Linked DNA regions of Homo sapiens: region 2 is linked to region 1. Evidence: promoter capture Hi-C in 16 types of primary human blood cells and fetal thymus (Javierre and others, 2016). All regions are on one chromosome and are shown on one strand. The core of a region is centred on a gene start or on the middle of the fragment in contact, and the rest is flanking DNA. Distances in the headings are between cores, read along the strand shown. Region 1 holds the start of KCNJ10 (potassium inwardly rectifying channel subfamily J member 10). Region 2 overlaps DCAF8 (DDB1 and CUL4 associated factor 8).

Region 1 (3,131 bases), core at 521-3,020:
GCTCCTTTCAGGACCCAGGTTGGCAAGGGCTTTGGGAGGCTGGACCAGCCCAGATCACCCCCCAACACCCTCTCCCTCCCTTCCTCCCTTGCCACCACCACCAAAGGACTGGGGGAAGGCAGCGGGGAAAGGAGTTGGCACTGCCTGGGCCGTGCCTATTGCCTCCACAATCCAGCCCTGGACCCTCTCCCTGGCATGATGCCTTCCATCCCCCTCCTCCCTCGTTTCTTCCTCCCTGAAGAACCAGCTATGAGTCAGGATGCCTGGTTCCTTCCAAACTTGGTCCCCTATACCCAGTCTACCCCCAGAGAAATTTACAAGCCCTACCACTTGGCACAGGATGGTACCCACCATCATGCCAGGAATATGTTCAAAAATCCTTGGAGATTAGGGAGAGAGTTTCAGGATGAAACTAAATTGAACTCACTGGTGGCTGCCCACCCCTCCTGGGGCTAATTTCATGACAACCACTCCAGGCCCTCCTCAGCACCCTTAAACAAGGCCATCTCTCACATGGGGGCCCTAAATCTCCTGTCATTATCTCCCTCCCACCCAGGCAGCCTAAAGCAGTCCCAGTGGGGAGAAAAAAAATTCAAACACCACAGCAAGAGCAGACTGGCCAGACATCTTTAGTCAGAATTTGTATTGGTAAGCAACAGAAGCAGGCTTTAAGCACTGGCCTCTTTGGGGTCCAAATCTGCACCAGCTTCTTCCCCATCTGCCTCACCCTGCCTGGGGCACTCACTGGAATTAAACTTCAAGACACCAGAACCCACCCTCACTTTTTCCCAGTGTTGTCCTTCTACCCATTCCTGGGTTCAGCTCTCCTCCCCCAAATCAGGAAGTTCCATCCTTCATCTGTTCCCTAACACAGGTGCCCTGGGTTAGTTCTGATGAGAGGAGGAATGGAATGGGAAGGGGCGTCTCCATCTGGAGGGTGAGTTTATAGAACCCAATCTGCCCTTCTCACTCTAGCAGAAGTGGCCCTGCTCCTTTCCTTCTGGAAATCCCAGTGCGAAACAGCTGGGGTGAGGGTGAGGGGCCATGAGGAGGGATGTCTTAAAATGGGAGCCACTCAGAATAGAAGGAAGAGATTGGGTGGGCAGGGGTCTGGAGCACACCAGGCTTTGGTGGCTCCCCGGTTTAAGCTGCCAGTATCTGTTTTTCTCCCCATGTGGGAACTAGCGATCATGGGTGTCACTATGTGATTGTCACTGTATGGGGAGTGGGGGAGGGGCTGGGGATGGGAGTAACCTGTCCATATGGGGAGGAGGGCGCACTGTCTGTTGTGCCTGTGTATGGGGTGCCTGGTTATGTGTGGTTGTCACTGTATTAACTAGAGGAGCAGGGATGCAACTGCTGGTCTGCCCAGTGGGAGGGGGCATCGGGAAAGCCCCTTCCTTAGATGAAAGGGCTGAGGTGACCAGCCTGGCTAGTTTCCTCGTGGGGAGCCCTTCCCAGGAGGCTCCATTTGGGACTGCCCAAGGCGGGAGGCAGGGGAACAAGACGGTGGTACCGCTGAGGCCAGGCAGGGTAGGGACTGAGGATCTGGGACCCCGATGTCTCTGGAGAGTTAGGGGGACAGGACCCGGCCGGGGCGGCAGAACTCCTTCATCAGGGCCAGGGTCTTACCTTGGGTCCGAGGTGGAGTGGCCCCTTGGATGGGCCGCGGGGCAGCGGGACAGATGGACGGACGGGGCGGGCAGGAGTTAGGAGCAGAGCTGTGCGACGGGCCGGGCCAGGACTCTTAAACCCGGAGCTGGGATCAGATAAGGGCTTGTCCGGGGGCCGGGGCCGGGGTCGGGCCGGCCGGGGGCAGAGCTGGGCCGGGCCGGGCCGCCCCCTCCCTCCGCAGCGCCGGAGCCAAACTTTGTGTGAATGGAGGGGCCCGGAGGGGGGCCGGGCAGGCGGGGGCGGGGGGCTCCGAACAGACCAATGGGAGAGTGGAGCGCCAGGCTCGAGCCGCCGAGATTGGAGGGTCTTGGGCAGGGGGCGGGGCGTGCGGGGCAAGGAAGCGGAGACCCAGACAGCTGCAGGCGCAGAGAGAAATATCCAAAGACAGAGACCCAGACAGACCCGGGGAGAAAGAGAGATGAAGAGACGATATGCGAAACGATAGGAGCTGAGCTGGCAGGGTGACAGGGGAAGGGAGAAGGAAGAAAAGGGAGGCGGTCCTGTCAGCGATGGGTTACGAGAGCTGGAGCCGGGGGGCGGGACTGGGACCGAGTTAACGAAGTGGAAATGAATTCAGGACCGGCCCAGTGGCCCTGCAGGCAGCGCCGAAGGCGGCGCCTGGAAGTGAGATTGGGGCGGAGTAGGCCTGGGCTCCCTGAGCCACAGGACTGTATCTTTGGGCACAATTCCCGTGTTGTTCACCGTCTCCTAAGTCCCCGGTGCGGTGCTGGGTGAGAGACGCGCAGCACACGGTGCCCACCTGCAGCGGCTTTCTCTGTAAGGAAAGATAAGGCCGGAACCCTCAGCGAAGTGCGGGAGGTACTGAAGGCTGTAAAAGGGAGAGGTCATTCTACTCAGAGGGCTCCTAGCAGATGTGGGAGGAAAGAGGTAACATCTGATTAGGGTCCCAAAGGAAGCAGAAGATTCAGGTGCTGAGAGATGGTCCCCAGGACTCTGTTGCATTTAAGGCAGAGGGAACAACGTAGCAGAGTCCTGGGGAGACGTGAAAATACAAGTTCACTTGGGAAACAGCATCAAACTGTCCCATTTACTAGATTAGAGTGCAGGGTGATGGTTCTCAACCCTTTCATCACCAAAGATTTCTTTAATTTTCTGAATCTATGTGTTGAGAGGTTTTAATTCACCCCCACCCCCAGCATTTATTTAAAAAGAATATAATTATTTCCTCATTTCTGATCATCATAAACATTTAACTGCTAATCAATAACCAGTGTTACCATATTGAATTGCTATAAATTCAGGTAAAAAAAGGAAAGAAACTAGGAATGTAGCTTAGTTTAACCACTAAAAGCCATAAGATAAGTAAATGTCCATTCAAATAGCCTCATTGGAGAAGCTGGAAGGACGGGACTAAAGGTTAGGCACCATAGGCAGTGTTTGTGTTAAGGGGAACATCCGGAAGAAACACAGAGTTGTGCTGATTTGTGGTCAGGCCA
Region 2 (2,916 bases), core at 306-2,805, 180 kb after region 1:
AGGTGAGGATAGGCTGGGCGCAGTGACTCATGCCTGTAATCCCAGCACTTTGGGAGGCTGAGGCTGGAGGATCGCTTGAGTCCAGGAATTTGAGACCAACCTGGGCAACATCAGGAGACCCTGTCTCTAGAAAAAATTTAAAAATTAGGCTGCGCACAGTGGCTGACGTCTAAGTGACGCTGGTAATCCCAGCACTTTGGGAGGCTGAGGCGGGTGGATCACCTGAGGTCAGGAGTTTGAGACAAGCCTGGCCAACATGGTGAAACCCTGTCTCTACTAAAAATACAAAAATTAGCCACACGCGGTGGCATACGCCTGTGATTCCAGCTACTCAGGAGGCTGAGGCAGGAGAATCACTTGAACCTGGGAGGCAAAGGTTGCAGTGAGCCGAGATCGCACCATTGCACTCCAGCCTGTGCGACAGGGTGAGACTCCATCTCAAAAAAAAAAAAAAAAAAAAAAAAAAAAAATAGCAGGGTGTGGTGGTGTACACCTGTAGTCCCAGCTACTTGGGAGGCTGAAGTGGGAGGATCACTGGAGTCCCAGAGGTCGAGATTGCAGTGAACTGTGATGGGGTCACTGCACTCCAGCCTGGGTGACAGAGCAAGTCCCTGTCTCAGAAAAACAAACAAAAAAACCAAGAAGGTAAGGAGGATAGTCCATGCTTCCAAAAAAATACAGAGAACAGTATACTGTCAAAAGGCTGTAAGAGTCAGAACAGCTTTTCCCCTGGAATTATCTCAGAGATTGAATGGAATGCTGATTTTCTCTCCAGTAAAGAATCATAAAACACTAGGATTCAGCTATCTCTTAAATCTATAAAAATTATTTCCTGGGATGGGTGCGTGGCTCATGCCTGTAATCCCAACACTTTGGGAGGCCGAGGCAGGCGGATCATGAGGTCAGGAGTTTGAGACCAGCCTGGCCAACATGGTGAAGCTCCGTCTCTACTAAAAATACAAAAATAAGCTAGGTATGGTGGTGCATGCCTGTAATCCCAGCTACTGGGGAGACTGAGGCAGAAGAATCGCATGAAACTGGAAGGCAGAGGTTGCAATGAGCCAAGATTGTGCCACTGCACTCCAACCTGGGCCAAAGAACGAAACTCTGTCTCAAAAAAAAAAAAAAATTGTTTTCTTAAAAACTCATTAGCTTACCAATATAGCATAACTATGTCTAAACAATAAAAAAAGTTTGTATTCCTACTGTCATTTGAATAATTTATATACATATGTTTATAAGAAATATTTAATTCTACCTTTCAGCTTCATCTCTTGGCTTTGAAAAGCCCTGGTTTTTTTTTTGGCCAGGTACCATGGCTCACGCCTGTAATCCCCACACTTTAGGAGGCCGGGCCGGGTGGATCACGAGGTCAAGAGATCAAGACCATCTTGGCCAACATGGTAAAACCCCATTTCTACTAAAAATACAAAAATTAGCTGGGCATGGTGGCATGCGCCTGTAGTCTTAGCTACTCGGAGGCTGAGGCAGGAGGACTGCTTGAACCCGAGAGGGGAAGGTTTCAGTGAGCCAAGTCATGCCACTGCACTACAGCCTGGCGACAAAGCAAGACTCCATCTAAAAAAAAAAGAAAAAAGAAAAGTCCTATTTTTAAAGACAGCATGTGTTATGAAAGAAAGAAAAGGGCTTTGGTGTCAAACAGACCTGGGTTTGAATTCTACCTCTACCACCTGCTTTTGAGTTTTTCTTTTGTAAAATGGGATAATATTACCACCCTGCAGGAATTTAGAGGATTAAAAATAATGTATGCTAAGAGCCTGTTTGTACATAGTAGCCATTTATATTATTTTTCTAGTTTCCCATCTCTATACCAGACTACATTTCCTAGAAAATCCTGGACCTCTTTACCACTCAGCAATGATTCTCCAAACATCGTATATAATATAGGACACAGTCCCAAGTCTATGAAATCTGCTTACCCTTTCTGGCGTTTTAAAGAATTCAGAGAGCTCCGTTAATATCTTCTTTCAAGTATTCATGTTCTACGAACTGCAGTAAGACAATCTACCCAGGAACCCACAATATAAGCCTCCCTAAGTTTTTCTCCCTCTTTTAATTTTTAAAATAGATTTTTTTACTATTATTATCGTAGAGACGGAGTCTCACTATCTTGCCGCGTGGTCTCAAACTCCTGAGCTCAAGTAATCCTCCTACCTTGGCCTCCCAAAGTGCTGGGATTATAGGTATGTACCACCACACCTGGCCTCTTCTCCCTCTTGAAGGTTCTGAGGATACCCAAGATGGAAGACTGCAAAGCAATCACCATGGATAATGATGAGGATTCAAACTATGAATAAGGAACTTTGTTCCTTCTTTGAATTAATGCCTTCTCTCCCTATTGGTAACATAAAATGCCCAGTGTTTATAGTTTACTGGCTTTAATTATTGTTTTTTTATTTTTATTTTTTTGAGACAGGGTCTCACTCTGTCACCCAGGCTGGAGTACACTGGTGTGATATTGGGTCACTGCAACCTCTGCCTTCTGGGTTCAAGCAATTCTCCCGCCTCAGCCTCCCAAGTAGCTGGGACTACAGGTGCATGCCACTGCAGCTGGCTAATTTTTATATTTTTAGTAGACACAGGGTTTTGCTATGTTGGCTAGGCTGGTCTCAAACTCCTGACCTCAGGTGATCCGCCCGTCTCAGCCTCCCAAAATGCTGGGATTACAGATGTAAGCCACCGTGCATGGCCTCTGGCTTTAATTCTAATAACAGTATTTCAGACTATGTCAGGAATGCACTCTAACCCTTAAGTGTTAATTTCCAGCAGCAGAACTAAGCAAACTTTTTTTTTTTTTTTTTTTTTTTTTTTTAAGAGACAAGGTCTTGCTATGTTGCCAGCCTGAAACTCCTGGGCTCAAGCAGTCCTCCCAACTCAGCCCCCCGAGTAGTTGGG

The links. Contacts are between HindIII fragments. The CHiCAGO score rates a contact against its expected background, and 5 or more counts as called.
Region 2: a fragment that was not itself captured here is called in contact with the fragment with the promoter of KCNJ10 in region 1 in 1 of 17 cell types (naive CD8 T cells); the score reaches 5.5 in naive CD8 T cells.

What each region holds. Positions count from the first base shown.
Region 1 is chr1:160,068,390-160,071,520 of GRCh38, forward strand. It overlaps KCNJ10 (potassium inwardly rectifying channel subfamily J member 10), which reads right to left and starts at 1,771. Exons shown (of 2, transcript NM_002241.5): 1 at 1,633-1,771. RefSeq lists an enhancer at 1,153-1,322, a cis regulatory region at 1,238 and a silencer at 1,733-1,962. The HindIII fragment of the contact is 4,127 bases long and covers 1-3,131 here.
Region 2 is chr1:160,253,208-160,256,123 of GRCh38, forward strand. All of the region lies in intron 2 of DCAF8 (DDB1 and CUL4 associated factor 8), which reads right to left. Among named protein-coding and RNA genes, the nearest start is that of DCAF8-DT, 7.1 kb to the right of the region's middle. The HindIII fragment of the contact is 4,406 bases long and covers 1-2,916 here.